Regions from separate parts of the Homo sapiens genome. Here regions 1 and 2 are each linked to region 3. Evidence: promoter capture Hi-C in 16 types of primary human blood cells and fetal thymus (Javierre and others, 2016). All regions are on one chromosome and are shown on one strand. Each heading gives the region's core, a stretch centred on a gene start or on the middle of the fragment in contact. The rest is flanking DNA. Distances are from core to core; before and after follow the strand shown. Region 1 has its middle 7.1 kb from the start of OR6T1. Region 2 has its middle 36 kb from the start of OR6M1. Region 3 holds the start of OR8D4 (olfactory receptor family 8 subfamily D member 4).

Region 1 (3,298 bases), core at 304-2,803, 49 kb before region 3:
TCATTGGTTTCAAAGAGCTTCTTAATTTCTGCCTTAACTTCATTATTTACCCAGGAATCATTGAGGAGCAGGTTGTTCAGTTTCCATGAAGTTGTGTGGTTTTGAGTGAGATTCTTACTCTTGAGTTCTAATTTGATTGTGCTGTGGTCTGAGAGACAGTTCGTTATGATTTCAGGGTTTTTTTTTTTTTTTGCATTTGCTGAGGAGTGATTTTCTTCCAATTGTGTAATCAGTTTTAGAGTAAGTGCCACGTGGTGCCAAGAAGAATGTGTATTATGTTGTTTTGGGGTGGAAAGATCTGTAGATATATATCAGGTCCACTTGATCCAGAGTTGAGTTCAAGGTCTGAAGGTCTTTGTTAATTTTCTGTCTCAATGATCTGTCTAATATTGACAGTATGGCGTTAAAGTCTCCCACTTTTATTGTGTGAGAGTCTAAGTCTCTTTTTAGGTCTCTAAAAACATGTTTTTTGAATATAGGTGCTCCTGTATTGGGTGCATATATATTTAGGATAGTTAGCTCTTCTTATTGAATTGACCCCTATATCAATATGTAATGCTCTTATTCGTCACTTCTAACTTTTTTTAAGTTGCTAATAGTTCTGGGAGTGTTGTGGCAAAATCAATAATACACTATTTTTTAATGTTTATGTTACTCATGTAACAAATAAAGGTATATTTTGATGGCAAAAAGGAAAAGATAAGAAACATTCCACAAGAGCATTTAAACAGCCAATAAGTTATCTTGTTTAGGAGAAGAGATTCAAGAAAAGGATCTGGAATGCTACATACTTTATGTAATTCAACACATATTCTCGATTTGGGTAACATCTTAGAATAATTTAATGCTGCAGTTTAGTTTTTGAGGTAACTCAGTTAATCAGTAGACATTTCAGTTTTTCCTAACCCATTCATATGGATTAACCATATTAAGTAGGCATGTAAAAAATGTTTAAAGAAAATTTTTAAAAATCCACTTTTTAAAAAATAACAATGATACCAAACCCCTCTCAGATTAATATCCTTTTTTTTTTTTTCCTAAGATGAAGTATTGTCACATAGGGGCATTATTTCTCAAGATGAATGTAGATATCATTAGATGTGTTAATGAGCACTCTATTTTGAACTCATTTCTTGTTTCTTGGCTGTTCTATAGGGGAAGCTTTCAGAACAAGTAGGACACCAAAATATCCTCTGGATAAGATGATTATTGTCATAGTTCACAGAAGTCCCTCCTCATTGGCATTTATATTATTTAAGCTTCAGTGAAGGAAACGGAAATGATTTTAGCTATTTTAAGCAAGAAAGAATAGAGAATTAAGTGCTTACAAAATCACCAGGTGTGCTTAGGAAGTGAGTTTTAGACTAGAACTCCAGGATTGACTCCCAGTTCTGTAGCAAGTTGACCCAGCAGGAAAGGTAGAATAAAGGTGGAAATAGTGTGCCCATAGTGCCCAGACCTGTATTTGACACTCTTAAGGCACACTTTATCTAATTCCTGAAAAGGACAGCAAGGCTGGCTCTTCACTGACCCCCTTTCCCCACAGAACATGGATAGTTTTTATTGAACTTACCATTCTATCATATTTAAGAAGACAAGGTTTGGAAATCCTAGAATGACTGAAAACTTTCTTTACACAGATAATTCTCATCAGTGTAACATTGTCCATTATCTATTTTAAGCCATAATATCTTTAGCATATGATGTCCTAAGAGTAGCATAAAATGGCTTCTAGGGAAGGAGAAAAAAACATAATTTAGTGCAAATAAAAATCCCTACTACACATTTTGACATAACTTCACATTTTAAAATTCCAATCAAGGTTAGACAATCATTAATAAAGCTTTTAAATATTCTTTAGATTTTTATTGAATCTCTTTTAATCCAACATTTTTCATTCATTTTACACTTCAGTGCATGCAAAATATTTCAATATAACCACGTCTAGAAAGGTAAACTCATAACAGTTTACAGTATGGTTTTGATGAACTACAAGTTCAACATTTTGGTGGGAAAGGGGTGAAGTACGCAGATAATTTGATAAGTAGATACTTTGAGCTTATTGAATGTATATAAATGAGAAGATAATTTTTATTTGAACTTCTTGATAATGAGCAAGATTCAAATATTTTTTCTCATCTCCGTTGATCACCTGGGTGCAAATTATACACAATTATTTCTCTTAAAGATCCTATGAAACCCATTTTACAGATGAAGAAACTGAAGCTAGGAATTTAAGTAACTTACCCAAGTTCATGCCAAGTATTATATACCATAATTAGTATGTGACTCAATGTTCAATGCTCATTGAAAAAAAAAAAGATTGGATTTTCAAATTAACACTGATCATATATATATATTCAAATATATCCATATATATATGGATATATATACGGATAAATATATATCCATATATATATGGATAAATATATATGGATATATATACGGATAAATATATATCCATATATATATGGATAAATATATATGGATATATTTGTTATAATTTCATTACATCGTCAAGATACCCAAGGCCTCACTGAGTCACTACCTAGCTTAAGAGAATTTCTTAAAGTTCAAATACAGTAACAAGTTTTCTACTACTTCTGTACACAAGAAGTAGCTCTATCTTTTTTTGAAGAAGTACAGTTCATACTCTATGACAAATCTCAAACGTCTCACCCCCTAAAGCCTTGAAGGACTAATTACATTAGTTTACTTTTAGAGAACTTTGGTCAAAGTTATTCCCTTTTGAGATTTCCATTCAAAGCAAGTTAAAGTAAATTTTAATTGATTGGAGGTACAAAGAAATAATCATGCAAATTTATAGTAACTTCTCTTTCAACACTGAGAAGGAGTTTTGCTTGGTATTACTTGAAGCATAAAGAACTGCAGATTCAAGAAGCCTTCTGTGTGCTCCATTGAACATAAACAGGATCCTGATAGAACTTTTGAGTGCACATTCCTCAAACTGGCCAGGGGAAGAAGCCTAAGAAATGCAGTATTGGAACAGGTAAAGGAGATAACTTATATCACCTCCTATGTCAGGCAACTTCATATATCCAAAATTTATTTTTATTCTTGACTTAAAACTGGACTCATTGGAATCAAGGAGTTTTGTTTATAAGTAATTTAAGGCATAAAGATTTAGAGTACTAAAACTATGATACATTTTATTGTACACAGCTATACAATTTCTATTTACTGATGGAAGATAGGAATGACAGCTCTTCATTTATATCCTCAGCTATTGAGTTCTGCACAGATAAACCAACACTTGAGCCCATAAAGTACAGCACTG
Region 2 (3,127 bases), core at 481-2,980, 60 kb after region 3:
CAAGTCAAGTTATTCCATGCCACTTTCATTTGAAAATTACTCTTAAATAGACAAAAACCACTATGCATTTGTAAAGTGTACTTACCAACAGCTTAGAAATGTGAAAAAATTATAAGAAACCAGAATGTTCTTATATGGAACAGAGAAGATGAAGATAATTATTAAAATAACAAGGATACCTTGATTCATGAAAAAATGAGTAGTGAATAAAAATAAAGAAGCAACTACAAGAACCAGAAAAAGTCACAGCCAGATTTGCAAATGGAAATATGTTTAGAAAAAATGTCTTAGCTCTGAGACTTACCACAATTAAGATCATAGCATTTATTTTACTTATTTATCTAATTTTCTGTCTCTCTTAACTATACTGTAAGCTTCATAAGGGAAGTTTTTTGTTGTTAACATTTTTGCTTTGTTTTTGCTTTATATTTTTTGTTTTCCTCTGATATAGCTCCAGCACCTGAAAATTTGCATGATGCACGGCATATGCTAAAGAAAACTATGTGTTAATTAAAAGAATGAATAAATGAAAAAATAATAATAGTAACAGCTTCTGGCAGGTCACTTTTCCCAGGTAGAGAGTCTGAGGAAATGGCCTCCCTTAAAGAGGAATTCTGTGTGCACCACGTTAAAAAATTTACCTAGTTCAGAGATATAAATTAGTTGTTTTAACTTGAAACTAGAGCACTGGTCACAAAATAATATACCAGAGGACAGTGCTTCAGCTGAATTACATAGACATGAAACAGATCTTCGGTGAAGCAGGGCAGTATTCAGAGATTAAGCTGAGTGTTTCATATACATCTTTTCGATAGATCAAATACATGTTTCGGCATCCACTTTTTTGCAGTATTATTAATAACCTACTCTTCAAATGGCTGGGAAAAAAATGCCGTGTATAAAAGACTTCTTTGGGAAAACCTGTAAGAATCAGTTGGAGAAGGAAAGGGGAAACGTTTGTTGTTCTTTTGGATGCTGCCATGAATGTAACATGGCAACAAACAACAAAATAACAACAAATAATCATTTTTCCATCAGATTTTTTTCAAAATATTTAAAATAGGTTACACAGATTATGAATTATGTATCATGGACCTACTTGTTCCATAACAGTGTAGACATCAAAACATTTCTATTATATAAAGTAAAAACAAAGAAAAACTAAGTAGGGAAAGACTGATTGATTAGAGTAATTTGTGTCCAATTGTCTATTACACTGATATTCAAAACATGGTAACAATAACAAAAATGAGTAGAGGTAAATGTTGACTCCCCTCGATTTAACTGTCTTGGCCAGTTTTAACAGTTTCTGTTCTTTGATTTAGAAGATATCTTCAAAGTTGAAATAACTTTGAGAAAAGTAACAAGTTTTTTTTGTTTTTTGTTTGTTTTGAGACAGTCTCACTCTGTCACCAGGCTGAAGTGCTGTGGTGTGATCTCAGCTCACTGCAATCTCCGCCTCCTGAGTTCAAGCAATTCTCCTGCCTCAGCCTCCCGAGTAGCTGGGACTACAGGCACCCGCCACCGTGCCCAGCTAATTTTTGTATTTCTAGTAGAGACAGGGTTTCACCATGTTGGCCAGGATGGTCTCAATATCTTGACCTCGTGATCCGCCCACCTCGGTCTCCCAAAGTGCTGGGATTACAGGTATGAGCCACCTCACCGGGCCTAACTCAAGTTTTATTAACCTTCTTTTTCTCAATTTTTCAAATAATTGACCAGATTCTCAGTTTAGTATGCCTCTCTTTTTAAGAACAGAATTTAGCTGGGAAAGTAGTAGGTCAGGAAGAGCAAAAAAGAGACAGGAAGGAGCATTGTGTAAAAGAGACTAAAATCATAAAGACTAGAATTATAGGGACCATGAGGATAATTTCATTCAATCAAAACTTTGAAATATGAGAATACTGAAGTTAGAAGAAGTAATGTCATTTACCCAAGGGACCACATTTAATAAAGTCAGAAGCAGACTGTGAACGAATCACTCTTGACTCCTCACACAAAGTTTTTTCTATTTCACTCTTATCACAGATATTGGGAGTTGAAAACTTCCGTAAGTTGAGCATCATCTCTGCATTTTATCTTTTTTTTTTCAGAGATGTGCTTCCCACTAGGCATTGCCTGCAGTGGACATCCAAAATCAGACCACAGTGACTGAGTTTACCCTGACGGCCTTTCCTGTTCTTCAGCAGCTTCAAATTTCCCTTTTTGCAGTCCTCTTGTTTACTTATATGCTTACTCTAACAGGAAACGTTGCCATCATTTCCCTAACATGTGCGAATCATCGCCTCCAAACCCCAATGTACTTCTTCCTCAGTAATTTGTCAATTTTGGACATTTTTTTCACCACCTCAGTTATCCCAAAGCTATTAGCCTGTCTCCTGCAGGACAAGAAGACCATATCTTTTGCTGGGTGCATCACCCAAACTTATTTCCTTTGTTTTCTTGGGGACAGTGGAGTTTATCCTCTTGGCAGTGATGTCCTTTGACTGCTACGTGGCCATCTGTGACCCCCTGCACTACACCATTATCATGAACAGCAGGGCCTGCCTCCTACTAGTTCTGGGCTGCTGGGTTGGAGCCTTCCTGTCTGTGTTGTGCCCAACCATTGTGGTGTCCAGATTGCCTTTCTGTTACAAGGAAATTAGTCACTTCTTCTGTGACATCACCCCTCTGCTACATGTGTCCTGTATAGACACTCATTTCATCGAGATGATAAACTTCCTCTTATCTTCCCTCATCCTCCTGACCTCACTGGTGCTCACCACTGTGTCCTACATCTACATCATTTCTACCATCCTGCACATCCCCTCAGCCCAAGGACGTCGGAAGGCCTTTTCCACGTGCGCTTCCCACATCACCGTCATTTCCATCGCTTATATAAGCAACATCTTCAGGTATGTGAGGCCCAGCCAGAGTCATTCAATGGGTTTTGACAAGGTGACAGCTGTCCCCACAATGGTGACCCCTCTTCTGAATCCCTTCACTTATAGTCTAAGAAATGAAAAGGTAAAGGCAGTCTTGAAAGAAGCAGTCAGCAAAATTATGTCCTCATGGCACAGGAGAACTTAAAACTTTAACCAAGCTTTTCTGCTCAGAATGGTTATTTTCATCTCTAGCTCAGTGTGGA
Region 3 (3,349 bases), core at 206-2,705:
TTTATGAGGTTGTATTTCTGACCAAAATAATCTACTACATTGATTCAGACCTCATTCAGGACTCAGGTGGTTTTTAGCAATTTAAAATCATAAGAAAAGTGTTTTTAAACATTTCAATGCATCTCACAGTATTATTAAAACTATGACTATTGAAAGTATTTTGCAAAGGTAAATGCTAGATCAGCATTGCCCAATAGACATATAATGCAGACACACGGGCAATTTAAAACATCCTAGAAGTTCATTTTGTAAAAAGTCAGAATAAAAAGATAAAATACATTTTACTAGTATGTTTTGTTTAACTCAGTTCAGTCCTTGATATCCATAGGAGACTGGTTCCTGGACCCCTTCAGATACCAAAATCCCTGAATGCTCAAGTCCCTGATTTAAAATGGTGTCGTATTTTTATGTAACCTAACTAAGCACATCCTTTTGTATACTTTAAATCATCTCTAGATTACTTATAATACCTAATATAATGTAAATGCTAAGTAAATATTTCTTTTAGTATATTGTTCAGGGAATAACAAGAAAAATGTCTGTACATATTCAGTACAGATATAACCACCCATTAAAAAAAAATCTTCCATCTGCCATTGGTTGAATCCACAGATGTGGAACCCACAGACACACAGGCCAACTGTACATGCAAAATGATGTACATGTACATCATTTCAACATATAATTCATATTTTAAAAATAATGAGATATTTTACATTATTTTATTATACAAATCTTTGAAATCCATAGTGTATTTTATACCCGGCCAGATTTCAAATGCTCAGTAGCCACCTATGGCTAGTGGCTATATTACTGGACAACAGAAGTCTAGAATGTGATCTTTTTCCCTAAATCTTTCAAATCTGAATTGTCCCCTTTTAAAGAAAGAAACCATTAGTACAGAGGTAACAGAAAGACCATGAACCCTGAGTTATAAGATGCAGTATCATTTTCATTTCTAAGATTTACAGTGCAACCTTTGACTCATAAAGTCTCTCTGAACTTCATATTTTAATCTGTAAAAAATAATAAATACTTCAAAAGATTGTTATGCAAATCAAATGAGACAATAACTGTGAATGTATTTTACATATTATAAGGTTCACATAAATATATTTGTAAATATATTTTTAAAGCAGGTGATTTCACAGATTAATTCATATATTAGACACAAGATACTTAGGTAAGGTGACTGGACAATGCATAAATGAGTCTGAGATGGATGCCTATGGCCTCTTCCCTAAACTTCTGTGACTCAGTGGCCTCAAACATGCAGCTCGAGAACCCATGGGGACAATCGGGAATTGATTTCAGAACACATTTTAATATACTTATAATATGAACATCATAATTCTGAAGCTCACCTTTTTCCTCCTGAAGACTGTAGGTGAGTATCTCTTCTTTCTCCTAACCTCATCACTTCAGGAGTAGAGATGGATTGATTTTACCTTCTTCTTTAAGTGTCTGAGTGACAACAGCTAACAAGAAGCTATGACTTTTATTCTCAGTTCAGGTATTTTGTGTCAAGAAATATAAAGACCAGTAGTCCCAAGGGTTTCTTGTCTCCTGAGGTACAGCAGCCTATGTATTTGTAAGAACTATCCATGAACTGGCCTATCATTTTGGGAATCTAACATGGATTAGTCACACTAATGCCCCTTGCCATTCAGTCGGGGAAGATACATGGTCTAACACATGGCTTGCATTTTAAAATGTTGAACAAATGAGGCATCATAGACAGTGCTTGGTATAATAAGCAGTAGGTAGACTTTGAGGTCAGAGATGGAACAGGTCATTACTGTCTAGAGCGATAAGGACGATCTTCATGGAAAGGTAGATTGTAAAATATGCCTTCAAAGGTGGGGAGGATCCATTTAAGCTGAGAGGATATGAAAGAATATTCAAGACGTAGATAAAGGCATAAGCAAAGGAACTGAGAAGTAGAAAACCTAAGGAATATGTGAAGAACACTGGGAATAGCTGAAGTGTTTCTTGGATGAAAGCAGTAGATTCAGTGTTTCTAGTGTCTGCTAATGATGGAAGAAGAGTCAGAGGAATGAGTCTGAGTCCAGCCCTCCAGTCTGTTCTAATGGCTTTCCAGGACATCTGGAAGAATGTGCCTGGTGATCCTTGGGTGAGCCTTTTGTGGCTCTGTTAAAATAACACATGCACTTAAAGCCTCCACATTTTCAGGGGCAAACAGCTATATTCAGATCTGCCTTTGGGGAAAACTGTGACACCACTTCAGATTATCTCATAATCAATAGTGTCTACCATGTCAAAGACACTAAATTTCTGGAGATGGAGCCAGGATAAATAAAGCATGGTCCTTCCCCCATTCATATTGGATGGTTATTAAAACATGTTTTAATGTCAATTTATTTCCTTGGGAAAAGTGCTTTGGTACCATTCCTATTCCCTTAACTATTCTCCCAGTGTACTGACCTCTGCTTTAACATTGTCCCCCCATACATGTATTTGTGCCTGTCTTCCCTGCTCTTTGGGAATTGCCCCCCCGCCGTTGAGACAAGGGACAATTTCTCATTCATTAGGGCCTATCGCAATGACCGGCTTAGAGTAGAATTTACTTTTTTCAGCATCATCCTCATTCCTACCCAGCATCTAGTTCAATCAGAACACTTTGTTCTCTCCTGTCTAGAAGATCGTGATCTGAAATGCTGATTAAAATAGGCCAACTTACAGGAGAGGATTTTCACTTACTAGATAAATAACAAAATGAGATCAATTCTTAACCAGGGGAAATCAGTCATGAATGAGGAAGCTTATGGTATTAGAAGAGCAGATATGTAACACACAATATTCTTGCTTATTCTTAAAATCAAATATTATAAATAACCATCAATCCTACTTATACTTGTCCAAGCAAGCTTATTGCATAGAGGCCTACTGGAGTCAAATGCTTAAAACACAAAACTTCAGCTATAGTCTAGATACCCATTACCAGCCTGTGAATTATACATATTATGAATAATGTTTAGTGAAGTAAATCCCTGTTATGATCATGTGTGTAAGCGAGAGTGTGTGTGTGTATGTATTGCTGCCTCACTATGCAAATAGTTTATTTTGAAACTAAAAAATATTAGTGATTTGCTACACAAATATAATATGGAGCATATCTGATTGCAAAAAAACAAAAAAAAAGCAAATGAAGAAATATAATCCAAAGGCAAAGAGAAATGTTCAGATTATATGTTAGTCTTCTTTGTTAATGTGGGTAAGTCAAAGTTAACTTAGCTATAGCAATCTCTTTATAGTTATGTTAGAGATTCCTTTCAATGTGTACAGGAAGTTTTTGGTCAGAAATGAGAAAAGTATAAAGTCAGGTGGG

Evidence for each region. The method cuts DNA at HindIII sites, captures the fragments that hold promoters and counts their contacts. A CHiCAGO score of 5 or more calls a contact.
Region 1: a fragment that was not itself captured here is called in contact with the fragment with the promoter of OR8D4 in region 3 in 1 of 17 cell types (neutrophils); the score reaches 5.7 in neutrophils.
Region 2: a contact is called between a fragment that was not itself captured here and the fragment with the promoter of OR8D4 in region 3, in 1 of 17 cell types (neutrophils). The highest score is 5.3, in neutrophils.

What each region holds. Positions count from the first base shown.
Region 1 is chr11:123,949,304-123,952,601 of GRCh38, reverse strand. No RefSeq gene overlaps it. Among named protein-coding and RNA genes, the nearest start is that of OR6T1, 7.1 kb to the right of the region's middle. The HindIII fragment of the contact is 584 bases long and covers 1,262-1,845 here.
Region 2 is chr11:123,840,897-123,844,023 of GRCh38, reverse strand. It overlaps the pseudogene OR6M2P. Among named protein-coding and RNA genes, the nearest start is that of OR6M1, 36 kb to the right of the region's middle. RefSeq lists an enhancer at 2,096-3,127. The HindIII fragment of the contact is 2,708 bases long and covers 377-3,084 here.
Region 3 is chr11:123,900,273-123,903,621 of GRCh38, reverse strand. It overlaps OR8D4 (olfactory receptor family 8 subfamily D member 4), which reads right to left and starts at 1,455. Exons shown (of 2, transcript NM_001005197.2): 1 at 1,365-1,455. The HindIII fragment of the contact is 7,569 bases long and covers 1-2,784 here.